Linked DNA regions of Homo sapiens: all the other regions are linked to region 5. The links are contacts of gene promoters, found by promoter capture Hi-C in blood cells and fetal thymus (Javierre and others, 2016). All regions are on one chromosome and are shown on one strand. Each heading gives the region's core, a stretch centred on a gene start or on the middle of the fragment in contact. The rest is flanking DNA. Distances are from core to core; before and after follow the strand shown.

What was found. The method cuts DNA at HindIII sites, captures the fragments that hold promoters and counts their contacts. A CHiCAGO score of 5 or more calls a contact.
Region 1: a contact is called between the fragment with the promoter of TAF10 here and the fragment with the promoter of RHOG in region 5, in 1 of 17 cell types (activated CD4 T cells). The highest score is 5.5, in activated CD4 T cells.
Region 2: a fragment that was not itself captured here is called in contact with the fragment with the promoter of RHOG in region 5 in 1 of 17 cell types (M0 macrophages); the score reaches 8.0 in M0 macrophages.
Region 3: a fragment that was not itself captured here is called in contact with the fragment with the promoter of RHOG in region 5 in 2 of 17 cell types (non-activated CD4 T cells and naive CD4 T cells); the score reaches 5.9 in non-activated CD4 T cells.
Region 4: a fragment that was not itself captured here is called in contact with the fragment with the promoter of RHOG in region 5 in 1 of 17 cell types (M0 macrophages); the score reaches 7.4 in M0 macrophages.

The regions. Positions count from the first base shown.
Region 1 is chr11:6,610,796-6,613,518 of GRCh38, reverse strand. TAF10 (TATA-box binding protein associated factor 10) reads left to right here and starts at 1,303. Exons shown (of 5, transcript NM_006284.4): 1 at 1,303-1,561; 2 at 1,701-1,855; 3 at 2,067-2,131; 4 at 2,216-2,330; 5 at 2,508-2,723. The coding sequence starts at 1,330. The coding sequence ends at 2,597. It overlaps TPP1 (tripeptidyl peptidase 1), which reads left to right. Exons shown (of 13, transcript NM_000391.4): 13 at 1-751. ILK (integrin linked kinase) reads right to left here. Exons shown (of 13, transcript NM_004517.4): 13 at 2,649-2,723. RefSeq lists enhancers at 827-876, 927-1,056, 1,512-2,099, 2,100-2,688 and silencers at 1,347-1,446, 1,457-1,656. The HindIII fragment of the contact is 6,165 bases long and covers 412-2,723 here.
Region 2 is chr11:6,650,301-6,653,000 of GRCh38, reverse strand. All of the region lies in intron 1 of DCHS1 (dachsous cadherin-related 1), which reads left to right. Among named protein-coding and RNA genes, the nearest start is that of DCHS1, 4.2 kb to the left of the region's middle. The HindIII fragment of the contact is 2,855 bases long and covers 1-2,700 here.
Region 3 is chr11:6,402,869-6,405,700 of GRCh38, reverse strand. APBB1 (amyloid beta precursor protein binding family B member 1) reads left to right here. Exons shown (of 15, transcript NM_001164.5): 3 at 1,879-2,054; 4 at 2,157-2,213; 5 at 2,297-2,382; 6 at 2,493-2,556. Among named protein-coding and RNA genes, the nearest start is that of SMPD1, 14 kb to the right of the region's middle. RefSeq lists a silencer at 88-382. The HindIII fragment of the contact is 2,162 bases long and covers 364-2,525 here.
Region 4 is chr11:6,230,225-6,232,949 of GRCh38, reverse strand. The region is part of intron 1 of FHIP1B (FHF complex subunit HOOK interacting protein 1B); the gene reads left to right. Among named protein-coding and RNA genes, the nearest start is that of FHIP1B, 3.0 kb to the left of the region's middle. The HindIII fragment of the contact is 1,070 bases long and covers 738-1,807 here.
Region 5 is chr11:3,839,598-3,842,297 of GRCh38, reverse strand. It overlaps RHOG (ras homolog family member G), which reads left to right and starts at 1,339. Exons shown (of 2, transcript NM_001665.4): 1 at 1,339-1,404. RefSeq lists silencers at 399-448, 489-758, 1,109-1,158, 1,209-1,598. The HindIII fragment of the contact is 3,094 bases long and covers 403-2,700 here.

The DNA.
Region 1 (2,723 bases), core at 54-2,553, 2.8 Mb before region 5:
CATCTTCCAGAGTAAAATGCAAATCCCATCAGGCCACTTGGATGAAAACCCTTCAAGGATTACTGGATAGAATTCAGGCTTTCCCCTCCAGCCCCCAATCATAGCTCACAAACCTTCCTTGCTATTTGTTCTTAAGTAAAAAATCATTTTTCCTCCTCCCTCCCCAAACCCCAAGGAACTCTCACTCTTGCTCAAGCTGTTCCGTCCCCTTACCACCCCTGATACAACTGCCAGGTTAATTTCCAGAATTCTTGCAAGACTCAGTTCAGAAGTCACCTTCTTTCGTGAATGTTTTGATTCCCTGAGGCTACTTTATTTTGGTATGGCTGAAAAATCCTAGATTTTCTAAACAAAACCTGTTTGAATCTTGGTTCTGATATGGACTAGGAGAGAGACTGGGTCAAGTAAGCTTATCTCCCTGAGGCTGTTTCCTCGTCTGTTAAGTGTGAATATCAATACCTGCCTTTCATAATCACCAGGGAATAAAGTGGAATAATGTTGATAACAGTGCTTGGCACCTGGAAGTAGGTGGCAGATGTTAACGCCCTTCCTCCCTTGCACTGCGCCCCCTGTGCCTACCTCTAGCATTGTAACGACCACGTAGTATTGAAATGGCCAGTTTACTTGTCTGCCTTCCTTTCCAAGACCGTTGGTGCCTAGAGGACTAGAATCGTGTCCTATTTAACTTTGTGTTCCCAGGTCCTAGCTCAGGAGTTGGCAAATAAGAATTAAATGTCTGCTACACCGAAAACCTCACGCCTCTCATTCGTTGTGATTTTTGCATATGTTGTTGACTCAGGCTGAAACTCCTCCTCCTCCTACAGCAGCACTGTGTGCCGCCCCACTGCTGCCCCCACCTCTCGGGGCAGCTGGCGGAGAAGAGAGGGGGCTTTCCAAATCCACTATGAATCCTTAAAAGGCTGAATAAGGGAACTTGAAACGATGCAGACAGGCAGGCAACCCGTAGTCGAGGGACATAGGGCCATAAACGTCGAAGCCAGGTCTTGAGCGTCAGACAGAATGAGGTGTCCCAGAGCGGCGGAGGAGAGCCAGACGCACGCTGGTTCCGGTCTGGACGGAATCGCCGCGGAGCACGGCAGAGGCTAGGGCGGAATGGCTACGGCAGCGCAGTTCGCCAAGGCTCGGTCTCCGCCCTGCAGCCTATTTCCTCTAACCCGCAGATCCACTATGGGAGGAGGCGGGGAGCGGGCTGGAGAGCACTAACAGAGACAGGCGGGGCGAGTCGTGGGCGCGTGACGTCACCCCGGGGTGTGCGCGGCGCGAGCGGAAGCGGAAGCGGCTCTGTTCGCCGCCTCTCCCACCGGCCCGATGAGCTGCAGCGGCTCCGGCGCGGACCCCGAGGCGGCGCCGGCCTCCGCCGCCTCGGCCCCGGGCCCCGCGCCCCCGGTCTCGGCTCCCGCCGCGCTGCCCTCCAGCACCGCCGCGGAGAACAAGGCCAGCCCCGCGGGGACAGCGGGGGGACCTGGGGCTGGAGCAGCTGCTGGGGGCACGGGACCCTTGGCGGCGCGGGCCGGGGAGCCAGCTGAGCGGCGTGGGGCGGGTGAGGGCCGGGACGGGTGAGGGCGAGGGAAGCGTCTTGGGCTGGGTCCAGCGGCGGGTGAGGGCAGAGGGTATAGACAGACCTAGCTGGGGCCCTGCGCCTCCCACCTCTGTGTCTCATTTTGCTGGTTCTCCTCCAGCTCCGGTGTCGGCGGGTGGCGCGGCGCCCCCGGAGGGGGCCATATCTAACGGGGTTTACGTACTGCCGAGCGCGGCCAACGGAGACGTGAAGCCCGTGGTGTCCAGCACGCCTTTGGTGGACTTCTTGATGCAGCTGGAAGATTACACGCCTACGGTGGGCTTCCGCCCGAACAAGGCCACCTAGCCTGCTGTCAAAACTTTCAGCCACATCGTGCTTTTCAGCGTTCTCTTCCATTTGCTCCCCTAGTCGCTCTTCTGTGTTTGCCCTCTGCTCACCCAAACTGTGAGCTTCCTGATAATCAGGCCTATCCATTTCCCTCACCCTCCTCCCGCTCTGCTGACAGTTCTCTTAATTGATTTCTCAGATCCCAGATGCAGTGACTGGTTACTACCTGAACCGTGCTGGCTTTGAGGCCTCAGACCCACGCATGTGAGTAAACCCAGGGCAGGTTAGTTTTGGGTGCTTGTGCAGTATGTTGTCCATCTCCTTCTCATCTAAGTTTTTTCTCTCTAGAATTCGGCTCATCTCCTTAGCTGCCCAGAAATTCATCTCAGATATTGCCAATGATGCCCTACAGCACTGCAAAATGAAGGGCACGGCCTCCGGCAGCTCCCGGAGCAAGAGCAAGGTGTGAGGGGAGGCTTAATGAATCAGTAATTACCTTCCACAACAGTGGAGGCTTATCCTGCCACCCCTTTGGGGAAACTGAATCGTAGGGGAGGTGTAAGACTTACTCAGGGTCACCCATCTGGGATTGAAGTCCGGGATTCCTGTGCTCAGTTGGTGCTCTTCCCTCTTCCCTCAGGACCGCAAGTACACTCTAACCATGGAGGACTTGACCCCTGCCCTCAGCGAGTATGGCATCAATGTGAAGAAGCCGCACTACTTCACCTGAGCCACCCAACCTAAATGTACTTATCTGTCCCCATGTCCCCACACCAGCCTGTTTTCATAATAAACTTTATTGTGACAGGCGGGGCTGATCCCTCCCATGTTGGGAGACACCATGTGGCAAGTGACA
Region 2 (2,700 bases), core at 134-2,633, 2.8 Mb before region 5:
CCATGTGGAGACTGGAGAAAGAGCCTGAGAAGAAGGACAGTTGGCTGTTGCAGAAACTCTGGAGGGTATAACACTGGCCTGAACTGGAGTAGTGGCCGGAGAGAAGGAGAAAGTGGATGGTTTCAAGAGCTCTTTAGGCAGTGGGATCAGCAGGGCTCAGTGACAAAGCAGACATGGTGGGGTGAAGGAAAGGAAGGAATTAAGAGTGGACAACCTGGTCTTCTGGCTCACTGAGGAAATTGAGGCCATCTGTTTTGAATTCCCTCAGATTTCTGCCTCCTCCCTCAAATTTTATCTGCATCCTCTTCAATCTTTTCTCCTTCCTTCCTATAAGAACGAAGTGCTGTCTCTTCTACTTAAGGCCAATCCTCTACCTGTGTTACGGATCCCATCCCCTTCCTCTTCCACAGGGACCTCACTCAACTGATTATTCCATGTGTTTCCCACGTCTCCAGTTCCTTCCTTTCTCCCATTCCTCCTGGGAGGACATAAAGATCCTCCAGCCTCTCCTATCTTTCTTTAACCCTGTAATACCCCGTTAACTAAGAGGCTTCCTCACTTTTCTTCACTGTCACATTTTGTGAAAGAGTCTTCTGCATATAGCTGTTCCTACTTCCTCACTTCCCATTTGTGCCTGCCCCTCAAATGTAACTGCTTTCCCTAGGAGAAAGTAACATCTCTTCTGCTCAATCTGGAGGATCTTTTCAAAAGTCCTTAACTGCCTGACCTCTCGGGAGGAGCTGACATTATTGACCATTCTTTTCTCCTTGAGTTGTTTTTGTTGTTTGGCTTCTGAGCCATGATTTTATTCTATCAACATTTAACAGGCAAATAAGTGGAAAGTTACATTATGGTATGTATCTCTTCTGGAGCTCCTCCTAGCTGTTCTCTCAGTCTGCTTTGAGGGATCCTTTGTATGCCCCCTGAATGTCACTGTTCCTTAAAGTTCTGGCTTGGACCTTCTTATTGTCTCACTGTATACACACCTCTAGGTAATCAATTTCATTCATTTTTCAAGGCTTTTATTAACATCTATAGGCTGATGACTCACAGACATCTCTCTTCTAGGCCACATTTCTGCATACCTGCTGCATGCCTGCTCTTTACTGTATAGCTCACCGACCCCTTATCATGTGCAAACCTGATCTCATCATTCCTTCCTTCCCCAAATGACCATCCCCACTCAGGTTGCAAGCTGGAATCCCAGAAATTAACTGTCACCATTCCCTTCTCCACGTATCCCATAATCCAGAAATCCCTTGGAACGTGTTGGTTCTATCTTCTCTCCAGCAATCTCTGATATCCCATCCCCTTTTCTCCATCACCTCTGCTGTTGCCCTCATCTACCATCTTTTCACATGAATTTTTGCAAGAGCCTCCTAACTTTTCTTTCTACACTTCTCTTCCTTCTTTCAATCCATTCTTTTCATTGGAGTAACAGACACCTTCCTAAAGTACAAATCCAACTATGTCACTCCCTGCTCAGCATTATTCAAATGCCTTCCATTTTCCTTGAACAAAATCTTTTCTTTTTAACAAAGGTTATGAGATCATAGTCTGACCTCCCCAAGCCTCCCAGTCTCATCACCTGCCCCATTTCCCCAGCCCCCTCACGTTTTGAGTTTCAGCCATACTGAATTTCCTGTAGTTCACCAAAGACACTACCTTTTTCCATGCTTCTGACCCTTTGCACATACTGCTCTGCCTGCCTGAAAGGCCCTTCACTCCCTTCCCTCCTGGCTTATCCCTTCCCTTCCTCATATCTGGTCTCAAACCCTGCCTTTAATGACTCCACCGGGCAGGCTTGAACTCTGTGTTTCGTTGTTGTCATTGCCTCTTCCCTGTCTTATCTCCCCAAACCGCGCTGGGACCTCCTTGATGGCAAGAGTGCGTATTACTCATCTTTGTGACTCAGGGTCCCACACAGGTGCTTGGCTGTGAACAAAATGAATGAATACATGGGTACCTCACAGCACATCCCTCACCCTCGTTCACTCTTCAGAAGACTGACACCTAGTCTCAGCTGCCCACATAATTAAGAAATTTTCACACTACTCACTTACTCTGCTGGAGACACTTCCACTCCCCTCACCTACAATTTATTCTTCCTTCGTCTCCCTCGATCCTCTTCCTCTCCCTTATCTGTACTTTATCTTTCATTCAGTTAGCAAATATTTAAGAAGTACCAGAAGTTTGCAGACCCAAATCCATTGAGCCAGGTGTCTACTGGGGCTCTGGGAAGGGATGGAAGAAGCAGAAGCTGTGCCAGACTACAAGGCATTACAGTGCCTCACCAGATTCTTTCCCCAGAGGTGTCCTAGGCTGCTCCTTCCTTTAATGCCCTCTTAGCCCACGGACTCACCCACCCTGAGCCCTCCAACTCCTGGCATCCTGGCCTCAGTCCTCCCCATATTAGGTTCCTTGATTCTTGTACTCTTTTCTTCTTCCCTCTCCTGCCTGTCAGTGGTAACAGAGGCAAGACTGGACTCTCTCTTCTCTGATGCCCTGGTATCTGCTAGGAAAAGCCCCTCCCAGGGGTTCATGCTATTGTCTCCTAGCTTCTTCCCAGCTTCCTGCTGACCCCCCTTCCTTCAGCTCCTGTATCCATCTTCCCTAGGTAACCTTCTGACACCAGGCCACTTTCAACCACTGCCACTTGGGAGGGGCTTCCATTTCCCTGTGTCTCCTGGTGAAAGGGCA
Region 3 (2,832 bases), core at 195-2,694, 2.6 Mb before region 5:
CAAGAGCCCCTCCTCTTTGGGTGTCTGTGGGCCCACGTCATTTGGAAGCTGAGGATGGTGAAGCACCCTGCCTGAATAACTCTCGTCAGGTGTGCAGCCACCTTGGCGTAACCACGCCCACTCCCAGCCCTGCTGTGTCTGGTTGCCCAGCAGCAGGGTCTTGGGACTGCCTGTCCCTTAGTACTGCCTCTTGGACCAGTCAGGATTCCTGGTTTCCCTGGTAACGGGAAGCACGTCAGCAGTCTGGGCGCTCCCAGCCGGTCCTGGTGCTGCGGTTGCCGAGGAGACGCTGCAGCCTAGCTGGGCCCTGGCAGGTGAGGGGTGGGGGGTGGTGCTGGGAAGCCCCAAGCCCAGCCTCAAGCTTGCTGGGGCTCAGGACCTCAAAGCCCACCCTTGGGTTCAAACTGCTGTGCAGGTCCTGGACAGGGGCGGGATCCCTGAAGGCCTTGAAACCACACCCTATTTATGCTGACAGCTATAGGCTCTGCAGGGCCCCAGGCAGCTGGGGTATTCCTTAGGGGCTGAGTCTCCTGGTATCCCTAAGACTGGGCTTGGCTTAGGCACTGAGGTAACCACTGGAGGGTGGGATGGAGATTCAGGATTGGGGGAGGGGAGCCAGGGCGAGGAAGAAGAGGTGTGAGCAGAAGGGGCTGGGGTCTCATGAACCTCCCTTTCTCCTCCCTTCCCCACCCCCCAAGGAGATTCCCTAGCATGGTGGTCCTGGCCCCTCCCTAGCAAGCTCCAAGCGGGGGAGGATCTTGCCTGGCAGACGCTCTGCCCTGGTGAGAAGGGGGCGGGATGAGCTTTTCTCTGCAGCCCAGCACCAGGCTGTGAGCCCAGCTGGCTGGGCTGGAGGGGCTGTGAGGAGGGAGGGTGGAGGCAGGAGGGGCCGGGAATGAGCGCCATGTTCTCCCAGGACTTTTTCCTGGCCATTATCCTGCAGGACAGCAGCGCAGGTGAGGGGCAGCATGAGGTTGGGCCTCATGTGGGGTGGGGCTGACAGGGAGAGAAGAGTTAGAGGACGCATGAGCGGGTTACAGGGTTGGAGTGGTGTGGCTCTGCCGGCAGACAAGGGTGTATGACACAGATGCGAGGTATGTGTGTATGTGCATGACATGTTTGCTTGCATCTGTGTGCAGCAAGGGTCAGGAAGTGAGCGTCTGTGGTGTCTGCACACATTTGGCAGGGTTTGACGTGTGCCGTGTGTCTGAGTGTGGGTCCGCCTGTGTGTGTGGTACCCACACGTGTGTTGGGGCCATTGTGGTGTGGTATCTGCACACCTGTGTGGCAGGGGCTCGTATGTTTAGCTGCATGCACACACACCTCTGTGGTGTCTGCATAAGTGTATGGCTAAAGTTTGTGTGTGTGTGCCCCTGCACATACATGTGCACCTGTGTGTGATACCTGCCATCTGTGCTGGCATTTTCTGTGTTGCATACCCTGGTGTTTGTGGCTGCACAGGTGTGTGGTAGGGCTTGTATGTGTTGTGTGTCTGTGTATACATGTACGTGTGCAGGAGCTAGAAAGTGTTCACCTTCGTGTTAACTGAGATAATAGATATGTATGAAAGGAGGTTAATTGGGGTCACCCAACATTCATTGCTCCCTTCCTTCTTCCCTCCCTGCCTTCCTCCTTTCCACAGTGTGGCCACATTAGCCACCAACAGGGCCCAGGAGGAGACCTGAGCCATGTCCCCTACTGGTGGCCCCACATGTGGTGACTCCAGACTATAGGCTCTAGGCAGAAGCAGGAACTGTGTTGTGGTATAGCTCTTCCACCACCCCTTCTCAACCATGGGGTCTCAGAGGGGACCGGGCATAGGCACCAGCTGTCTGCTCTTTGGGTAGGCTGACCCTCACCAAGCCTCCCACCTGGCAGATTCCTTCTGGAACCCCAACGCCTTCGAGACGGATTCCGACCTGCCGGCTGGATGGATGAGGGTCCAGGACACCTCAGGGACCTATTACTGGCACATCCCAACAGGGACCACCCAGTGGGAACCCCCCGGCCGGGCCTCCCCCTCACAGGGGAGCAGCCCCCAAGAGGAGTCCCAGGTGAGGCTCACAGGCCTGTTGATTTTGGGCCAGGGGTGGAGGGAGTGTGTGCTGCTGGAGTAGGATAGGACACTCACTCACTACTCCCATCCCTCCTCCTAGCTCACCTGGACAGGTTTTGCTCATGGAGAAGGCTTTGAGGATGGAGAATTTTGGAAGGTGGGTAAGGGGACCTGCTTTACCACGGGATAGCTGGAGGAGGGGCATCATTTTGATACTGATTCCTCAATCCCCTTCCCAAGGATGAACCCAGTGATGAGGCCCCAATGGAGCTGGGACTGAAGGAACCTGAGGAGGGGACGTTGACCTTCCCAGCTCAGAGCCTCAGGTGAGCTGCCAGATGCAGTGAGCTGGCAGTGGGATGGATCTGTCTGGAAGGGGCCTTGGGACAGCTCCATTTATGGGAGCCCTGTGCCAAGTATTACCATCTGCCTTCAGCCCAGAGCCGTTGCCCCAAGAGGAGGAGAAGCTTCCCCCACGGAATACCAACCCAGGGATCAAGGTTTGTTCAAGACTGACACCCATTCTGAGTCTGGGGCCCTCTTATTTGTCAGACAGCCCCTAATGTTGTGCTCTGAGGGGTCTCAGCGCAGTTCCCCAGGTCCTGAGTTAGGAGTTCTTCCAGTCTCAGCACAGAGCCCTGTGTCTGAGCTGGAGGCACTTCAGTTTTTAAATCAACCAGCCCAACAGCCAGGTTGGGGGCCCTTGTAGTCTTAGTTCAGGTGCTTTTTTGTACTAGCTGGGGTCTCATCTGACATCTCCCTCACCCTAACCACAT
Region 4 (2,725 bases), core at 23-2,522, 2.4 Mb before region 5:
TTATTCTCAGAGATTATCATTCCTATTCTTTTGGTGTTGCAGTGCTCTTTCGTTGATGCAGTAATGGTAACAGTAGATGGTGGGTTAAAAAAAAAAAGATCTAATTTACCCAAATAAAAAGTGTCAACCCAATTTTTAATTTTAAAAATTATTTCTATAGCTTTATGAACTTCAGAAATTTAAAGTGATGATGGTGTGGCTGTTGTATTAGGTTGAGGAAGCATACATTTATACAATGATTCTGTATAACTTAACATCTGAACAGCATTCATGCTTTACATAGGGATTTCAAATTTTATTATACTGATTTATATAGATACCTTGTAGACAAAGACAGGAACTTTCATTTTATAGATGAGAAATTAAATTCAGTAGCCAGAGATCATACAGGGATACAGTGGCAAGGCTGAACCCAGAATTTTGTCTCAGAGTGAGAGAGACTTTGGGAAAGAAGATTTATAATAGACACTGAAGGTGATGTGGGAGGATTTTTTAATGATTTGTAATTGTTCTATTTCCAAAAGACAGAAAAGGGACTGTGAGAGTGACATAGGGATGAAGGTTATGTTTAATGCTGTCGCAGTGACATTGGAACAGGTATATATAATACCTGGATCACATCTTGATAGTGGATCATATCATGATAGTGATAGGATGAATCAAATCAAATATTAGATGGTTCTTAGGGACTGTCTAAATCCTTGTTATAATGGAGAAAGCACTGGATTTGGTAAGCTTATTGTTTGCTATCCCAAACTCTGTTGAAATAGTAGTGCATTAAGTATAATGGATTTTGATTTGTATCATATAGTGAGTGGTAGTTCTGAGAGGATGAAACATACATGAGGATGATGATGTAGAGATAGAAACATGTTTAGGGTACTGTGTTAATCATTTATTCCATATCTGCTCTGTGCCAGGCACTCTACTAAGTGCTAGGAGAATGAATTCGTTTATTCATTCAACAAATACTTCTTCAACATATAGTCTGTGCTTGTGATGCTCACATTTTATGGGATAACAACATGAATAAAACATGGTCATCCGAGCTCTCAAGGGATTTTCAGTCTAGTAGGGAGAGAGAGACACATGAAAACATAATTTCAATTTAGAGAGATAATGTGAAATGTGAAAATATATCATAATAGGCTGGGCGTAGTGGCTCACGCCTAGCATTTTGGGAGGCTGAGGCAGGCAGATCGCTTGACTTCAGGAGTTTGAGACCAACCTGGGCAACATTTTGAAACCCTGCCTCTACCAAAACAACAACAACAACGACAATAAAACCACCACCAAAAAAACCCACCAAAAATTAGCCAGGTGTGGTTGCACATACTTGTGGTCCTGGCTACTCCGGAGGCTGAGGTGGGAGGATTGCTTGAGCCTGGGAGGCAGAGGTTGCAGTGAGATGAGGTCACACCACTGCACTTCAGCCTGGGTGACAGAGGCCCCACCTCAAGAAAAAAAAAAAAAAAAAAAAGAAAATATATCATAATGAGTTGATTACTCCTTTGTATCTAGTGTCATCTTTCCCTGTATTCCAAGTATACATGTTTATTGATCTGTGTATCTCCACAAGTATCTCAAAATTAACATGTCCAAAACAGAATTCATAGTCTTTGCCCCAAAAGCCCGACTTTGCCCTCATATCCCCTATCTCACTCCAGGCAAGGACTACATTGTCATCTTTCATACTTTCTGCTCTTTTACTCCCTGCATTCAATCATTTGCTAGAATCTTAATACATTTCGCTCTGTGTTATCTCTCTTCTCTATATCTCCATTGCTACATCTTCACTGTCAAAGCTTTAGTTTAGCTCCCCCTCACCTCATATGATTTTTTTAAAACAATTTTTTGTCTTAAAACTTGCTATTTTCTGGTCCATCCCTAGAATGATTTTTCTGAAAATACACATCTGATCTCCGAACTCCTTGGCTTAAAAACTTTTGGCTCTTTGTGTCCTGTAGGACAACATCCAAATTTCTTAATATGGCATCATTTAGCTTCAGCTTACCTCTCCAGTCTCGTGTGCCACTCCCTAGTCTGTATTCTAGTTTGAATAAATTGTTCACAGTTCCCTAAAACCATGCTGCTTTTTTGAGCCTTGAAATCTTTGTAATAGCTGCTTCCTCTACTAGGAATGCCTTTTCTTCTCTGCCCAGTGAACTTTCCTTATCCTTTAGGATCTAGTTCAGTTTCACCTCCTTTTTGACATCTCTGTCAAGGTAGAGATAACTGTGTGTGACATGAGGATTCATTGCTGTAAAGAGGAGTCACTGTAGAATAGAGGTTCACTTTTGTGAATTGGATGGACCCCGCTGGAGTCAGATGAGGAGATCCCTGCAAGAAGCAGAAGTGATATTGCGGGGAGGGAAGGGAATGAGTTGGGACCATACCCTGACATCCCATTTGTCTGAGGGATGGAAAAGCAGGGAAGAAATGTGTAAGCTGAGCTCTAGTATAAATTCCTAGTAGGTGGTGTTTTTGGTTGGTTGGTTTTTCCCTTTGTATTTCTATGAGATTTTAATCAGGTCATTCAACTTCCAGTATTTAGGGTAACAGCCCATTCATCCTCCTTATGTCAGTAATTAGTCTTCTTGCCTAGGAAGAGCCACTGTAAGGAGAGAGACACCACAGAATTTTACTGACCTGTTCTTGGAAGATCATTTTGGTCTCTCTGTCCAATGTAGGTGTTGCAGGTATATCCCTTCCCCCAGCTCCCTCC
Region 5 (2,700 bases), core at 90-2,589:
CCTGTAACCCCAGCTACTCGAGAGACTGAGGCAGGATAACTGCATGAACCTGGGAGGCAGAGATTGCAGTGAGCCGAGATCGTGCCACTGCACCCCAGCCTGGGTGACATCGTGAGACTGTCAAAAAATATGTGTGTGTTTGTGTTTATAGAGACAAGGTTTCACCATCTCTGTAATTACAGGCAGACGCCACCGCGCCAGACTCTTAGGGTATGATATTTTTAAAAGATATTTGTTTAGTGTTTGAGATACGCATTGACAACAGGTCTTTTACACCCATTCTCATGTTATCTTCAAAACTACGGGGTGAAATATAATTATTCTATTTTACCAAAGACAGATTTGAGGCTCAGAAAGGTTAAGCTATTTATTCCTGGAATCAATCCGTTTATTTGAAAAGCTTCTGGAAGACAGGGATCCTGTCTTAAACGCTGTGTTTCTTCACAGCACCTAGCACTTAGCTCTCTCCACGTGGTAGGCGCTCAGAAACTTTGTGCTGAACGAAGGATATGGATTCTCAAGTCAAAGCTCCGAGCGCAAAGCCAGGGAGCGAAGCACCAGAGGGCGCCCATGAGCCCGCCCACCCGCGGGTCGCCGGGGCCCAAGCTGGACCTCAGGCCTGGGTGCGGCTCTTCAGCCCCAAGCAGCTGCGCGCCCCAGCAGAACAGGGGGCGAGGGGGCGAGGGAAGCCCCAAGTCCTCCGTCCGCCCCGCCCCCTCCCCAGAGCCAGGCCTCGCAGGGCTGCACGGTGCTGAATGACGACTCGACATCCTGTTTTTGGGGCCCGCGGCTCCGCCTGCGCCTCTGCTGATCTTGTCTTTCCCTTGGGTGCTGACGCCAGCTCCTCTTCCCCCCGAGTCTCCCCACCCTCCCCAGGGGTCTGGGGCCTTCCCACTGCTGAATCACCACCACCTCGCACTCCCCCGGGGCTCAGGGCAGGGGCGGGGACTGCCCCAGCCTCGGCCACCACTCTATCCCTGGGGTTGACTGAAGGGACCAGGCCCAGGGGCGCCTTTCTCAGCATCTTCCCGCGGAGGCTGGTGGGGGCGGGATGGGGGGAAGAGGACGAACGCCTAGCGCCCAGGGTAGGGCCTCCAGGGGTAGGGTGGCCAGGAGGAGGCGGAGAGACTTGACCTTGGGAGGCCTGACTTACTGACCGCAGGGGCAGCGGACTGGGAGGGGAACGTGGCAAGCCCGGGACTGGGCCGGGGGCGAGGCTGGGGGCGGGCCGGGGCTGGAGAGGGGGAGATCGGCCCTCGGACTTCCTGGTCGGGCCCCGCCCCGGCCCGCCCCGCCTCGCCGGCCCGCCCCCCCCACTTCCTCCGGCCTCCCGCTCTCACTTCCTTCTCGAGCCCGGAGCCGCTGCCGCCGCCCCCAGCTCCCCCGCCTCGGGGAGGGCACCAGGTGAGGCCCGGCCGGGGCTGGCGGGTAGGGGTCCGGGGGAGGAGAGCCCGGCCGGCCCAGGACTCGGCGCGGGCGCCGGCTCATGAGTTTGCTGGCGGAGGCCGCGGGCGGGAGCTTCTCGGTTCAGTCCAAGTAGGGCGGGCGCGGCCGGCCGGGCGGGGCGGGAACGGGGCCACTGCGAGCCGGCGGAGGCTCGGCGAGGGTGGCTTCCCGGCGGCTGTACCGCCTCTAGGGAGCCGAGAGGGACCCCTGAGGTCGGAGGGTCCCGGGCTCCAAGATAAGTGTCTCTGAAGTGGAAGAGCTCAGAGCTGGGAGATCGGACGCAGGTGGGGTGTCCTCAGAAGTTGGTGGGGGGGGTGTTGAGAAGTGCGTGAGGGGAGAGGGCTTCTGGGCTGGAAAAGGCGCTCCCTCTGCTCTGGCAGTTGTGACACTTGGGGTGAGAGGGGCGGTGTCTGGGGCCTCCGAAAGCTCTCTCCCTGTCAGATGGATGCTAATACAGACCCACACTCGGTCTGCAGCCCCAAGGCCCTCTGCACTCAGGAGGACCCGGGTTGGGTGGGGGAGCCCCGCCGACCCCAGTCGTTGTCTGTATGTCTGTTTTCCTGAGTCCCGACCTTACCTGGAGCCAAGCAGTAGGTATTTAGTGAGCAGACGCTGTTCCTAGCTGACCAGAGCCTGGCCTTGCTCTTTTGGGAGTAACTTGGTCTTGCCCTGTAACTGGAAGTGGAAGGACTCTCATTCAGAGGTACTGATAGTCCCTGACAAGTTTTTGTTGTGTCTTTTGGGGACAATTGAGAACCATCTCCTAGTGTTCCTCTTCATTCTTAGTCCCTGAATTATACACATGCTCCTGTCGTCTCCCTCCACACCTTCTTTAGTTTCTACCCACAAATCCGCCATCACTCTCTTCTCATCCCTTCCAGTCTCTTTTCCTCCAAACATACGGTCATACCTAGGCCTTGACCTGTCTTCACCTACCCTGCCCCATGTTCGTCTTGGTCCTCTGCAACCTGCCCCATCCCTTCCCTTCCCAGCTCTGGCACCCACACACATGCACCTCCTGGTTTCTTCCATCACCCCTCATTCCTTTTGAACCCTCAGCCTGTCACCCTCTCTGTATCCTTCCCTCCCACCCACTTATCTCCAGCTTTGGAATCAGTTGTTGAAGACTTAGTGAGTTCTAGAGTCTTTTCAAACCTCCCTAGCTTGGAGAGGCAGTCTGCAGCCTCCCAGTGATAGAGACGGATTAAAGAGCTGGAAAGCCTGTGTGTGTGTGTGTGTGTGTGTGTGTTTGCG